Linked DNA regions of Homo sapiens: region 1 is linked to region 2. Evidence: promoter capture Hi-C in 16 types of primary human blood cells and fetal thymus (Javierre and others, 2016). All regions are on one chromosome and are shown on one strand. Each heading gives the region's core, a stretch centred on a gene start or on the middle of the fragment in contact. The rest is flanking DNA. Distances are from core to core; before and after follow the strand shown. Region 1 holds the start of KRTAP13-2 (keratin associated protein 13-2). Region 2 has its middle 38 kb from the start of KRTAP19-8.

Region 1 (6,698 bases), core at 3,079-5,578, 700 kb before region 2:
TTTTATGGCTGCATAGTATTCCATGGTGTATATGTGCCACATTTTCTTAATCCAGTCTATCATTGTTGGACATTTGGGTTGGTTCCAAGTCTTTGCTATTGTGAATAGTGCCGCAATAAATATATGTGTGCATGTGTCTTTATAGCAGCATGATTTATAATCCTGCGGGTATATACCCAGTAATGGGATGGCTGGGTCAAATGGTATTTCTAGTTCTAGATCCCTGAGGAATCACCACACTGTCTTCCACAATGGTTGAACTAGTTTACTGTCCCACCAACAGTGTAAAAGTGTTCCTATTTCTCCACATCCTCTCCAGCACCTGTTGTTTCCTGACTTTTTAATGATTGCCATTCTAACTGGTGTGAGATGGTATCTCATTGTGGTTTTGATTTGCATTTCTCTGATGGCCAGTGATGATGAGCATTTTTTCATGTGTCTGTTGGCTGCATAAATGTCTTCTTTTGAGAAGTGTCTGTTCATATCCTTCGCCCACTTTTTGATGGGGTTGTTTGTTTTTTTTCTCATAAATTTGTTGGAGTTCTTTGTAGATTCTGGATATTAGCCCTTTGTCAGATGAGTAGATTGCAAAAATTTTCTCCCATTCTGTAGGTTGCCTGTTCACTCTGATGGTAGTTTCTTTTGCTGTGCAGAAGCTCTTTTGTTTAATTAGATCCCATTTGTCAATTTTGGCTTTTGTTGCCATTGCTTTTGGTGTTTTAGACATGAAGTCCTTGCCCATGCCTATGTCCTGAATGGTATTGACTAGGTTTTCTTCTAGGGTTTTTATGATTTTAGGTCTAACATTTAAGTCTTTAATCCATCTTGAATTAATTTTTGTGTAAGGTGTAAGGAAGGGATCCAGTTTCAGCTTTCTACATATGGCTAGCCAGTTTTCCCAGCAACATTTACTAAATAGGGAATCCTTTCCCCGTTGCTTGTTTTTCTCAGGTTTGTCAAAGATCAGATAGTTGTAGATATGTGACATTATTTCTGAGGGCTCTGTTCCATTCCACTGATCTATATCTCTGTTTTGGTACTGGTACCATGCTGTTTTGGTTACTGTAGCCTTGTGGTATAGTTTGAAGTCAGGTAGCATGATGCTTCCAGCTTTGTTCTTTTGGCTTAGGATTGACTTGGCAATGCAGGCTCTTTTTTGGTTCCATATGAACTTTAAAGTAGTGTTTTCCAATTCTGTGAAGAAAGTCATTGGTAGCTTGATTGGGATGGCATTGAATCTATAAATTACCTTGGGCAGTATGGCCATTTTCACGATATTGATTCTTCCTACCCATGAGCATGGAATGTTCTTCCATTTGTTTGTATCCTCTTTTATTTCATTTAGCAGTGGTTTGTAGTTCTCCTTGAAGAGGTCCTTCACATTCCTTGTCAGTTTTATTCCTAGGTATTTTATTCCTTTGTAGCAATTGTGAAGGGGAGTTCACTCATGATTTGGCTCCCTGTTAGTCTGTTATTGGTGTATAGGAATGCTTGTGATTTTTGCACATTGATTTTGTATCCTGAGACTTTGCTGAAGTTGCTTATCAGCTTAAGGAGATTTTGGGCTGAGACGATGGGGTTTTCTAGACATACAGTCATGTCATCTGCAAACAGGGACAATTTGACTTCCTCTTTTCCTAATTGAATACGCTTTATTTCCTTCTCCTGCGTGATTGCCCTGGCCAGAACTTCCAACACTATGTTGAATAGGAGTGGTGAGAGAGGTTATCCCTGTCTTGTGCCAGTTTTCAAAGGGAATGCTTCCAGTTTTTGCCCATTCAGTATGACATTGGCTGTGGGTTTGCCATAAATAGCTCTTATTATTTTGAGATAAGTCCCATCAATACCTAATTTACTGAGAATTTTTAGCATGAAGGGTTGTTGAATTTTGTCAAAGGCCTTTTCTGCATCTATTGAAATAATCATGTGGTTTTTGTCTTTGCTTCTGTTTATATGCTGGATTACGTTTATTGATTTGTGTGTGTTGAACCAGCCTTGCATCCCAGGGATGAAGCCCACTTGATCATGGTGGATAAGCTTTTTGATGTGTTGCTTGATTTGGTTTGCCAGTATTGTAAATCTTTGTATGAGAGTGCCAGAAGTCTTATTTTATTTCAATTATTTTATTTAGTTTAAACCTAAAGAAGACTTTATTGACCCATATGATCAAAGCACTTAAAGGATGAATAAAGCTGGCTTAAGGTACATGGGAATCAGAGGCTTCTGTGTTGCCAGGAGTTTCTTCCCGTGTTTCCCTTCTCTATTCTTCTAGTTTCTGTGGCGGCAGGTTTCTATGATCAGAGGATGTGGTTCCCACACTTCCATGCTTAGCCCGTATTGTCTCCATTATAAGAGAAAAGATACCCTCTTTTTTCAGGTTTAATTATAAAAAGCTTAAGGGAAAGGTGTCAGGGAAAAAAATCAATTAAAGCTCGTGACATATTATTGGAGGAAATGATAATCTTTCAAAGTTGTTTTCCCATTCATGGAGAGTTGTTATTGAATATTTTATGAAAAAGTTTTAGCTGAACTTTTACACTACCTTTAGCCTCTGAAAGAAATCACTTGCTTAAATTAAAATAAATAGAGAAGGTCTTATATCTCAGATGTGAATAGCATCCTACAAATATTTATTTTTATTCACACTGTCACAGCTGAGCAGTGGATTCCAAGGATACTGAGGGAGGTTATAAAATCTAGAACATTGAAAGTAATCTAATTTTAACTGCCACTCAATGCAGAAATCACTGAAAAGTAATATCTTTTTCCTTGTTGATAAACTCAATAATCCAAAGAAAACACAAAGGTCATAATAGTTCTATAAATTTATGATTTATAAATATACATTTAAAACAAGCCAAAGTATTTCTCCCTATAACTGTTTCCATTACTCACAGTTGTAAACCTTAAGTCTTTCTGTCTTCTGTGCTCTCTCTCTCTTTCTCACACACACACAACACAAACACACACACACACTGAATAATTAATTTTCTCCTATATTTAAACACAACCGTAATGTCCTCCAGTACCTAACATTTCATATTTTCCCTTTTCCATCATAACATTTCAGATTTATTCAAATATTTCATAATTTTATATTTAATCACCTAGTTGACATCTTCTGAGAAAACTCTAAATACTCTTTTAAAAATGTAAACAAAAAGCAAATATGATTGTCAGCAAAATGTGTCTTCCTTGAAAACACACCACCATTATGAGTGTACTCTCAATAATTCTGTTAAGAATCCAACCAGTTTTCATGGCAGAAGACATGCACTTGCTCAGTCTTTTAGGCACTGGCATGCCCGGAGAATCTCCCCACACACTAGGCCTGATGACATTACCGATGGAAATGGATGTCCAAGGAAAAGACGTCTGGGGGCCTGGAGCCCCCAAAACAGATCACAAATCAAACTTTGGAAACCAATAAAAGACAAAGAGAACATATTGGAATCAACAGTAAATGAATTTATTACGTGAAACAAAACTGAACTTCCATATACTTTATAAGATGAACTTACGTGATAACGAATCACTTGTTTCAAAATTATAGACATTTGACTCTATATTTTGCTCATTCATTAATTTCACAGTCTGAAAGAACTAGCCTGTCCAGCCAGTACTTGATGCCAGAGAAAGGATGAAGAGCTAGTAGTAAGAGGGGTTAGCTCACATTGCTGGAAATGCCTATGATAACAGCTCTACGTAGAGACTGAGACACTTTGCTTAAAAGGTCTGGAAATTCAGCAAGTTGATCTGCAGAAGGTTGATCCATAGGCTGGTCTGTAACAAGGAGACTGGCAGCTCCTAGAAGCCAAGTAGGTTGGGCGGCAGAATCCAGATCCATAGCCGAGGGAAGGGAAGCCACAGCTTCCATAACCCAGGGATCTGACACCACTGGACCCACAGCCCACTGAGTAGCAGCTCCTCGATCCATAGCCCAGGGAGCGGCAGCTGCTGGATCCAAAGCCTAGAGACCCAGAGTAAGTCGTCTTGCAAGGACTGCAGAGCAAGGAGGTTCTGGGGCGGTAGCAGGAGGTCTGGCAGGGGCTGGACTCCACATAGGACGTCTGGCAGCTGGTGGGCTCCCAGCAGATCTCCTGACAGCCCCTATAGAGAGAGGAACCCAGCTGGCAGGTGCTGGGAGAGCAGAGGTCAGTGCTGTAGACCAGATTGCTGGGGTAGGAAAAGCCACGTGAGGATGCTGGGTAGCGCAGGTAGTCACCACAGGAGCGGGAGGAGAAGTTTCCAGAGCAGCAGTTGTAGGACATGTTGACGGGAGATGTGAGTTCAGCTGAGTTATAGTGGAAAGATTCTCTGAGTTTGAATGTCATAGTCTGGACTCCAAGTTATATATGCTCTTAGACCTGGGTGTGTCCACTGTCTCGACACTCCCTTCTCCTTGCTCACTTTTTATTATAAGAATGCTTCCCTAGGTTATTGTTTAATTTATCACATCTTCATATACTTACTTGTACTTTAGTCACTCTGGAACACTTAGAAGGAAGCCACTCAGTTTTTTTTTTTCCTGGAATTCACTGTGGTTTGACCTTCAATGTTATATGTCATCACATTTATGAGTATCTTGCCTCTTATTATTTGAGTACAGTGAGTCCTTATTGTACCAAATGGAATTACACAAAATTCTTTCTTTACTTCCCTTAAGTTATCAGGAGCATCAGTGGTTACTACTCAAAATAGATTGTCCTTCTTTTTAACACAAGCATATTATTTGTTACCAGAAACGGAGGATTTCTCCAAATACTAACTGTATTCAGTAGCCTCAGCAATCTGTCAGTTAAACCTTTTACTAGTACCTTAAGAGCTCAGGATCAGAACTGAGGAGTGCAGCATTATGTTGGGTGTCCATATCAGGCATCTTCCTTAACAAGAGGCTACTTTAGACAATGCTCACTTAGGAAACAATAAACACAAACTTTTTAGTAAGACTTTAAATTGAAGTTTTTCAGATATTTTCTGATGAACCTATCTTGTAGCAAGCACTATTCTATGGTTATGCTCTAAATCAACTCATAAATTTTATTTTGTTTTATGTTTCAATTTTTTTTTCTGGATAAAAGGACAGATTCTTAGCTGCAATTATTAATTTATACTTAAACTTTGAGGAATTGTTAACATTTTTCTGAAGCTTTTAACTTGAAGTATTAGAGTTATATGGGTCTTTAAACATCCCCTGTTCAACCCATACATGGAAAAATTACCTCTCAGAGAGCTTTAACTTTCCCCTAATTTCTCAGTAAGATAGAAGCAAAATTGAAGCTTTAATTATGGTTTTCTTATTCAGAGTCAAGTTGCAAATACCTTGCAAATATAAAAGTAAATTCAACTTTAACTTGTCTCAGAAAAGAAACTATTAAGCTTATTTATACTAAGATATAAAAGCCTAACAAAGCCTTATTTACTTTTCCTAACAATATTCACACTGAATAGTGTTCAACTGGGGAATTCTATGCCTTACTGATCTTCATACATTTGAAGTATATTTCACTTCCTAGCCCAAGAAAGAGAAAGAATATTGGTAATCCATGTTTAGATTAATGGGGGGAAGAGGCTTCTTATCTGTGTCTATTCTTCTTCTTTTGAATTTGACATTTTATTTGGTTTAACTAAGGGAAATGGCATTCACAATGGTTATCGAAAAGAGAGCCTCTTAACTACCTGAAAATTAACTTCCTTCATTCCAAAGCACACTGTTTCAGAGCACTTAGTTACTTTGTTTTATGATTATCTCTCCCATGCAGAATCCAAAGTGTGGCATGCATCACATGAAGTGCCCTTGTGCAATACTTAAACCATCACTCTGATTCACTGAAGTAAAATAAGCTGTGCTTTATGAATGGACACCTATTAAATTCACCAAAAAGTATGCACCACCCCCAACACATGGGATTCCTTATAATGGCAGCTTTTAACACCTTTAAAATGAGAAATATTTTTCTTTTCTTACTACAGGTTGATTCTGCTCAAAAAAAAGAAAACAAAAAACTTACTAATATCCAAAAGTTCTTGCCTTTCTAGACCAGCTCCCTATGTCTGGGAATAAACACTAAAATAACTTGGGAGTAAGTCAGTTCCAATTAACAGTCCCTCCACCCATTCCTAATTGGGTTAACACTTTTTATTAGGAGTTATTTGTGCACTTTGTACAAATGCTAATGAACAACTCCCAAATGCTAATAAATGTGTCCATCTGAAAGGCAGAAAAAGCAGAACAAAACTAGAGTAGCCTTAACAGTTCAAAAGTGGATTCTGGAACTAATAAAATACTCTACGTACTCTACATACACAGGCAAAGTATTAGTATAGAAAGAAAAATTCACTATCTTGATATGTCAGGGAAAACGTGATATTGAAATCTTTTCTCTCTCTCTCCTTCCTTCCTTCCCTCCCTCCCTCTTTCTTTTTCTTTTTCTTTCTTTTCTTTCTCTGCCTCTCTTTCCTTTTCTTTTTCTTTCTTTTCTTTCCCTCCCTCCCTCTCTCTCTGCCTCCTTCCCTCCCTTTCTCCCTCTCTCTCTTTCTCTGTTTCTCTTTCTTTCTATTTCTTTCTTTCTTTTCTCTTTCTTTCTTTCTTCTTTCTCTTTTCTCTTTAGAAATTTAGGCATAACAACACTACAGAGAATAAAACTATCATTACAGTACACAGTAGCCACAAGTAGCCTATGATCTGAATTACTTGA
Region 2 (6,033 bases), core at 1,905-4,404:
TATTGCTACTGCAACAAATTACCACAAACTTAGTGGCTTAAACTGACACAGAATTATTGTCCTATAGTTCTGTAAGTCTAAAGTCTAACTGGACTAAAATCTAGGTGTCAGGAGGGCTAGGTGTCTAGGTGTAGGGCTAAGTTCATTCTGAAGGCTGGAGGGGAGAATCTGGTTCCTGGCCTTTCTCAACTCCTAAAGGTGGCCTGCATTCATTGGCTCATAGCCCCTCCCTCCATCTTCAAAGCCAGCAGGGTAGCATCTTCAAATCTCTCTCTGTGACTCAGACACTTTTGCCTCCCTCTTAATAAGGACAATTGTGATTACAGGCAACCACAGTAATCCAATAAAGCTTCCCATCTCAAGACCCTTAACTTAATCTCATCTGCAAACTCCCTTTTGCCATGTTAGGTAACATATTTGCAGATTTCAGGAATTAGGATGTGGACATTTGGGGGCCATTGTTCTACCTACCACCACTCCCCCACCACAAACACACACACACACACACACACACACACACACAAACACACAAATGACTATGTGGCAATGTCAGACATTTGTGAAGCTCCCCAGTGCTGATAGAGGATTTTTAGAATTTTTCACATTGCTCCCATCAGAGAGATAAAAACAGAGCAAAGGAAAGATGCCACTACCCCCACCTTCCAGGGGAGAGCGGGTACATGTCTTCTCCTCTGTGGCCAGCCTCTCCCTTGACTTCTTACACTGCGGCTGCAACTACAAAGTTCATCGCCAACTGAAATGTATTAATCAAATAATTTTTATATGTGATAGGTGGTTATGGGAACCTCTTTTATAAAGGAAACGAAGTTAAAACCAGAGGATCACTTAAAATTGGGGTGTACCCACGTTTATTTTGTCAAGCTCCAGCATCTGTAATCCCAGATATTTGGGAGGCTGAGGCAGGAGGACTGCTTGAGCCCAGGAGTTTGAGGCTGCAGTGAGCTATGATCATGCCACTGCACTCCAGCCTGGGCCACAGAGGAACACTCTGTCTCTAAAAATGAAAAAGAATATTTTATCAAGCTCAGCATCCTGAATCCCACTCAGAAGGCTACTGCCCCCATGATTCCTTAGGGCTTTAGCCTCAGAGTGAAGCAATGTGGGAGCCTTCCCTAGAAAAATCAAATTTCTATGATTTGGTTTTTGAACAAAATAAGTAACAGAGGAGAAGAAAGAAAAACAGAGAAGACCAGAGGAGAAGAGGAAATGAGAGGGAAAGGAAAGGGAGGAGAGGAGGAAAAAGAGAGATGGTAGATAAAAATTTTCAGGGCATGCTTCCTTAGGAAGCAAAAACTTAGGCAACGCTTGCATCCGGTTTTCCTGAGGAGTGCAACACACTGGAATCTGGAGTGGAGGAAAGGACAGTAGAGTGGCAAAACATAGCAAATAGAAGGGTATCCTCTCCCAGCTGGGCACATCTTCAAAATCAAGTATATCGTGCCTATCACATGGACAGCCTCCAGATGCTACCCGGAAACTAGAACCACATGGGGAGGGAAGGAGAGCAATTGATCTGTAGGCTTGTTCTTGTCTCCCATTCTCATCAGTCCAAGTTCATATAAGTTGTGTTACCTGGTCGCTCTGGGAAGCCATTGGGAAACCAGACATCACTCCCTGAACACAGTCTTTATCTCAGTTCTAAAGGAGTAGGAAGGCCAGAGCCCTGTGAGCCTGGTCTTAGCTAACTCCAAGTTCAAACTCAACTGATCCACTGTCTCTAGGGATGCCTTTGCAGGACAGACCTTGATGGAAGCATGGGACCTCAAACCCCCCTGGTCTGTCTTTAGCTACTACATTCAAGGCCCCAGGAACTTAGTTAAGACAATTCATCCCCAGGGAAACTAGCTGGGCTTCCATCTTGCTTCTTCTTGGCCACAGGACCAAGACTCTATCACTTTAGTGCTGGATATGCTGTGGTTCTACATCCATGAGCACAGTGGAGGTCACAACAGCCACATTGCATAGTCACAGTGAGCTCTGTGATGTGTAGGAAGTGAGCCAGGGGCACAGCTGCCCAGAGAGCCCTTGCCACAGAGGAAGTTATGGTTCAAGACTTATGGGAAAGAAAAGATGTAACATGGGGCACTGAGAGGCACATAAAATTGGACCCGATACCAAACCCAAGCACACAGTAACTTGTACATAACACCAAATTATGCCATGGCGATGAAGTGCTTTGAATTTCAGTGGGAAAAAAATCTCCCAAAGCTGAGGGGACAACGACAGCATCAGAGAAGCAGCAGCTCTCAAGCTAAGCTATGAGGGAGAGCTTGTAATAAGTAATTCCCAAAGATGGAGGTTGCGTAATCACGCTGTAATCACATAAGTGCATCAGGTGCTGTCCTAGAAACTTTCCATTAAATAGTCCATTTAATCAACCGCTCTGTCTGGGAGAGTTAAGGATGTCATTCCCATTCAACTAATAAGGAAGCTGACAATACAGTTTAGTGGAGGTCATTCAAAGTAGCAAAAAGAGCTAAAGATGTGGAAGAGTTGACGGCTCATTAAGGAGAAAAGAAAAATATATTTTTAAGGGGTAGATAACCCCCAGACCCAGGAGGGTCTTCAGAGCTGGGCTGTCGAGTTGGAACATTATTTGGTGACAATGAGGCAAGCAGGGAAGGGTTATCTACTGAGGAATGACTTGTGTATAAAGTTTCAGAAGATAATCCTGCTGGTGGCATGAAGAACGAAGGCAGAGACCAATGGAAAGATAATCAGACTTCTGTCTTCCATGTAGAAGACAGAGGCCCTGGTGACCCTGAAAACTTGAAAGTTGACAAGATGGCAGGAAGGGTGAAGACAACCCCGGGGCTCTTCCACGAGCATATCACAGGTGGCCCAGTGCAACTGAGGGGAACTACATTCCCTATTTGTCCTTCTGCACTGATTGTGCAAAGCTCTCACCATGAGACCTGGCTCACCCAAAGGCTATAGACTAGTGTGAAACTTTCAACTCGCTGTGACTCTCCCAAAGACAGAGTGCATGAGGGCTCAGGACCAGCCCTGCCTTAATCCTCACATATCCTTTGTAGTCGCAGAATCATATCACTTGGCACTTCCATTTCCAAGCAGTTCTAGAACTTTCCAGGTGCACTTGCTAATTATCACAGACCACCGGGTGCTGGGAGAAGCAGCTACGGTGATCACAGCCATGAGCAGAGCACAGTTGGGCCCAAAACTAGTGGCTGCATGAAAATGAAATGCAGAAGACCTGTTTCTTTGCAATATGTTATTATATTCACCAGATAAACATGAAGCTCATGAATTATCTTTCATTCGGTAAGATTAGCAACTCTTAGGAAATGATTTCCTACCTGGGATGAGAAAAAATCTAATTTATTATAAATGAAATATGCAACCCTATATGCAAACACTTATAGGAGATGGGTTTGTATGAGCTTTGTGCTGTTACAGAAAGCTAAATTTCCCTGGAGACTCTGAAAAGGTTATCACACGTGGTTTCTTACTGTCAGCCTATGGGCGAGGCAGGGTCTGTGAGGAATGGTCTCAAGCAACAGCCTCTCTTAGGAGCCAGTAAACTGCACTCTCTGGAGTCTGCTCCCCACCTGCCCTCATGCCCTTCTTCCCCTCCTCAGCAATCACAGTTCCAAATCAGTTCCTCTCACTTCCTTCAAGTCTTGCCCCTCACCTCCATTTGAGAATTCAAAGTAGAGTTTAGATCTTTTACAGGTCTGCTGGAGAAATTGGCTCTGAAAACATGACTTAAATTAGAGCTTAAGCAACCAGAGAAAAATATTCAAGACCTAGAGAGAATTTCAGGAGAACATTTATACATATCCTGTTATAGTATAATAGGTGGAATGGTGGTCCCCAAAAATAGGGTCACGTGTGGTGGCTCATGCCAGTAGTCCCAGCATTTTAGGAAGCCAACGTGAGAGGATCATTTGAGCCCAGGAATTCAAGACCAACCTGGGCAACACAGCAAGACCCCATCTCTACAAAAAAAAAAAAAAAACTAGCTGAATGTGATGCTGCATGCTTATAGTACTAGCTGCTAGGGAGGCTGAGGCAGGAGGATCTCTTGAGCCCAAAAGTTCGAGCCTACACTGAGCTATGGTCACACCACTGCACTCCAGCTTGGGTGACAGAGGGAAACCGTGTCTCAAAAAAATGAATAAAAATGAAAAAGATACGTTCCCATCCTAATTCCCAAAACCTTTAAATGTTAATTTATTGGGGAGAAGTATGTTTGCAGTTGTGATTAAGAATCTTGAGATAAGATGATCCTGGATAATTAGGTGGGCCCTAACTTCAATGACAAGTGTCCTTATAAACAAAGGGCAAAGGGAAATTTGAGACAGAAGAGGGGAAGACACAGAGAATAGGAGGAAGCAATGTAACCATGGAGGTGGAGATTGGAGAGATGCAACCACACACCCAAGAATGCCGACAGCAACCAGAAGCCAGAGGGGCAATGGATGGAATATCTTCTGGAGCCTCTAGAAGGAGTATAGCCCTGACCCTGACAACAACCCCATTTCAGACTCCTGGCCTCCAGAACTCTGAGAGAATAAGTTTCTGTTTTAAGCTACATAATTTGTGATAATTTGTGACAGAAACCACAGAAGACAAATACACCTGGTTTTAAGCAGACAACTTAAACCATTGTTAATCATTTCTTCTTCCACTGCCTGCCGTGCCATATACACAGGCCTATACACATTAACAACACTACCGCCAATACCATCATCTTCTGAAAAGTTTTATTTGCATGTCGCTCTGCAGATAATAACCCTTCAGTGCCAGCAGAAGACTCAGTATGGGATTCTTGTTGAAATTGGTGGGAAGAGAGGACTGGGGATTAGTGGGAGCTGTCGGGAGCTACCTTGAGACCACAGAGGGACATCAGGCTGAGATCAGAATCAGCACAGAAAAGAGCAGAACTGAAAACAGAGACATCAAGGCAACACCCCAAAACACCCCTGGAACCCCCGAGCTTTTCAGTTAAGTGAGATAATATGTCCTTGCTTTATTAATTTGAGTTTATTGACCTTTTTTTCACTTGCAACTGACTTGATTCAGGACACAAAGCAACGCAGACCCCAAGAACATAAGCAATGCCTGAGGTTTTCTGTGAGAACAGCCTGAAAGCCAGTATCTATTTGAGTGATGACTCTCATCGGTTTTTGGTTTTAAAGTTAGTCCAAGAGAAAGTGAAAGAACAAATCAAAACATGAATTTTATCTGTGGTTCAGTTTTCTATGATATCTCCCCACCCAGTCCTGGCTACTGTGGCTTTGAGTCACCCATCTTTTCAGTTCAAAGTTGGTAATTCAATCTTGCCTCCTATCAGCATCTCTAGCCAATCCTCCAGCCTTCAGGGAAATGGTGCACAAAGTAATAGCTTTGTTGACATGGGAAAAGAGGAGCAGAACGTACCAAACATGACGTTAACTAGGTAAAGACATTGCTTCATGTCCTGCTGGAAACAATGGTCAAGTTACATTCCTCTTATCTGGAGCCAGAATCCGTCCAAGCTGTTAGCAAAGATACTCAATGTTTGTGATATGTATGGCACTTTATAGCTTATGAAGTGCTTTCTTTTTACATTTATTTTTATTTTTCAATAAAAATGGGGTCTCACTATGTTGCCAAAGCTGGTCTCGAATTCCTGGGCTCAAGCAATCCTCCCACCTCAGCCTCCCAAAGTGCTGGGATGACAGGCCTGAGCCATCGCTCATAGCCAAAATGCTTTCTCATCTATTTTCTCATTTAATTTTCTCTACCTCCAGCCTTCTAATGATAGGCAAGGACAGAATGGTACCCTGGCCTGCTGCAGATGAGGAAACTGAGGCTCAGTAAAGTTGAGTGGTTTGTTCTAGGCCAAAGAGCTAGTGACTCTAAAAACAAGACCCATGCAATCATGATGTAACAATGAATCTAAGGAATACTTCCTTTGCCTCAATAAGAACAATGAAGCTTTGCATCCCCTCCACTATCTCCCAAGTCACTAAACAAAGGCCTGGGTAGGCTTTTCTTTTTTGACTT

Evidence for each region. The method cuts DNA at HindIII sites, captures the fragments that hold promoters and counts their contacts. A CHiCAGO score of 5 or more calls a contact.
Region 1: the fragment with the promoter of KRTAP13-2 here is called in contact with a fragment that was not itself captured in region 2 in 4 of 17 cell types (activated CD4 T cells, naive CD8 T cells, naive CD4 T cells and 1 more); the score reaches 9.6 in activated CD4 T cells.

The regions. Positions count from the first base shown.
Region 1 is chr21:30,367,943-30,374,640 of GRCh38, forward strand. It overlaps KRTAP13-2 (keratin associated protein 13-2), which reads right to left and starts at 4,329. Exons shown (of 1, transcript NM_181621.4): 1 at 3,448-4,329. The coding sequence starts at 4,271. The coding sequence ends at 3,744. The HindIII fragment of the contact is 2,756 bases long and covers 2,392-5,147 here.
Region 2 is chr21:31,073,737-31,079,769 of GRCh38, forward strand. No RefSeq gene overlaps it. Among named protein-coding and RNA genes, the nearest start is that of KRTAP19-8, 38 kb to the left of the region's middle. The HindIII fragment of the contact is 5,615 bases long and covers 348-5,962 here.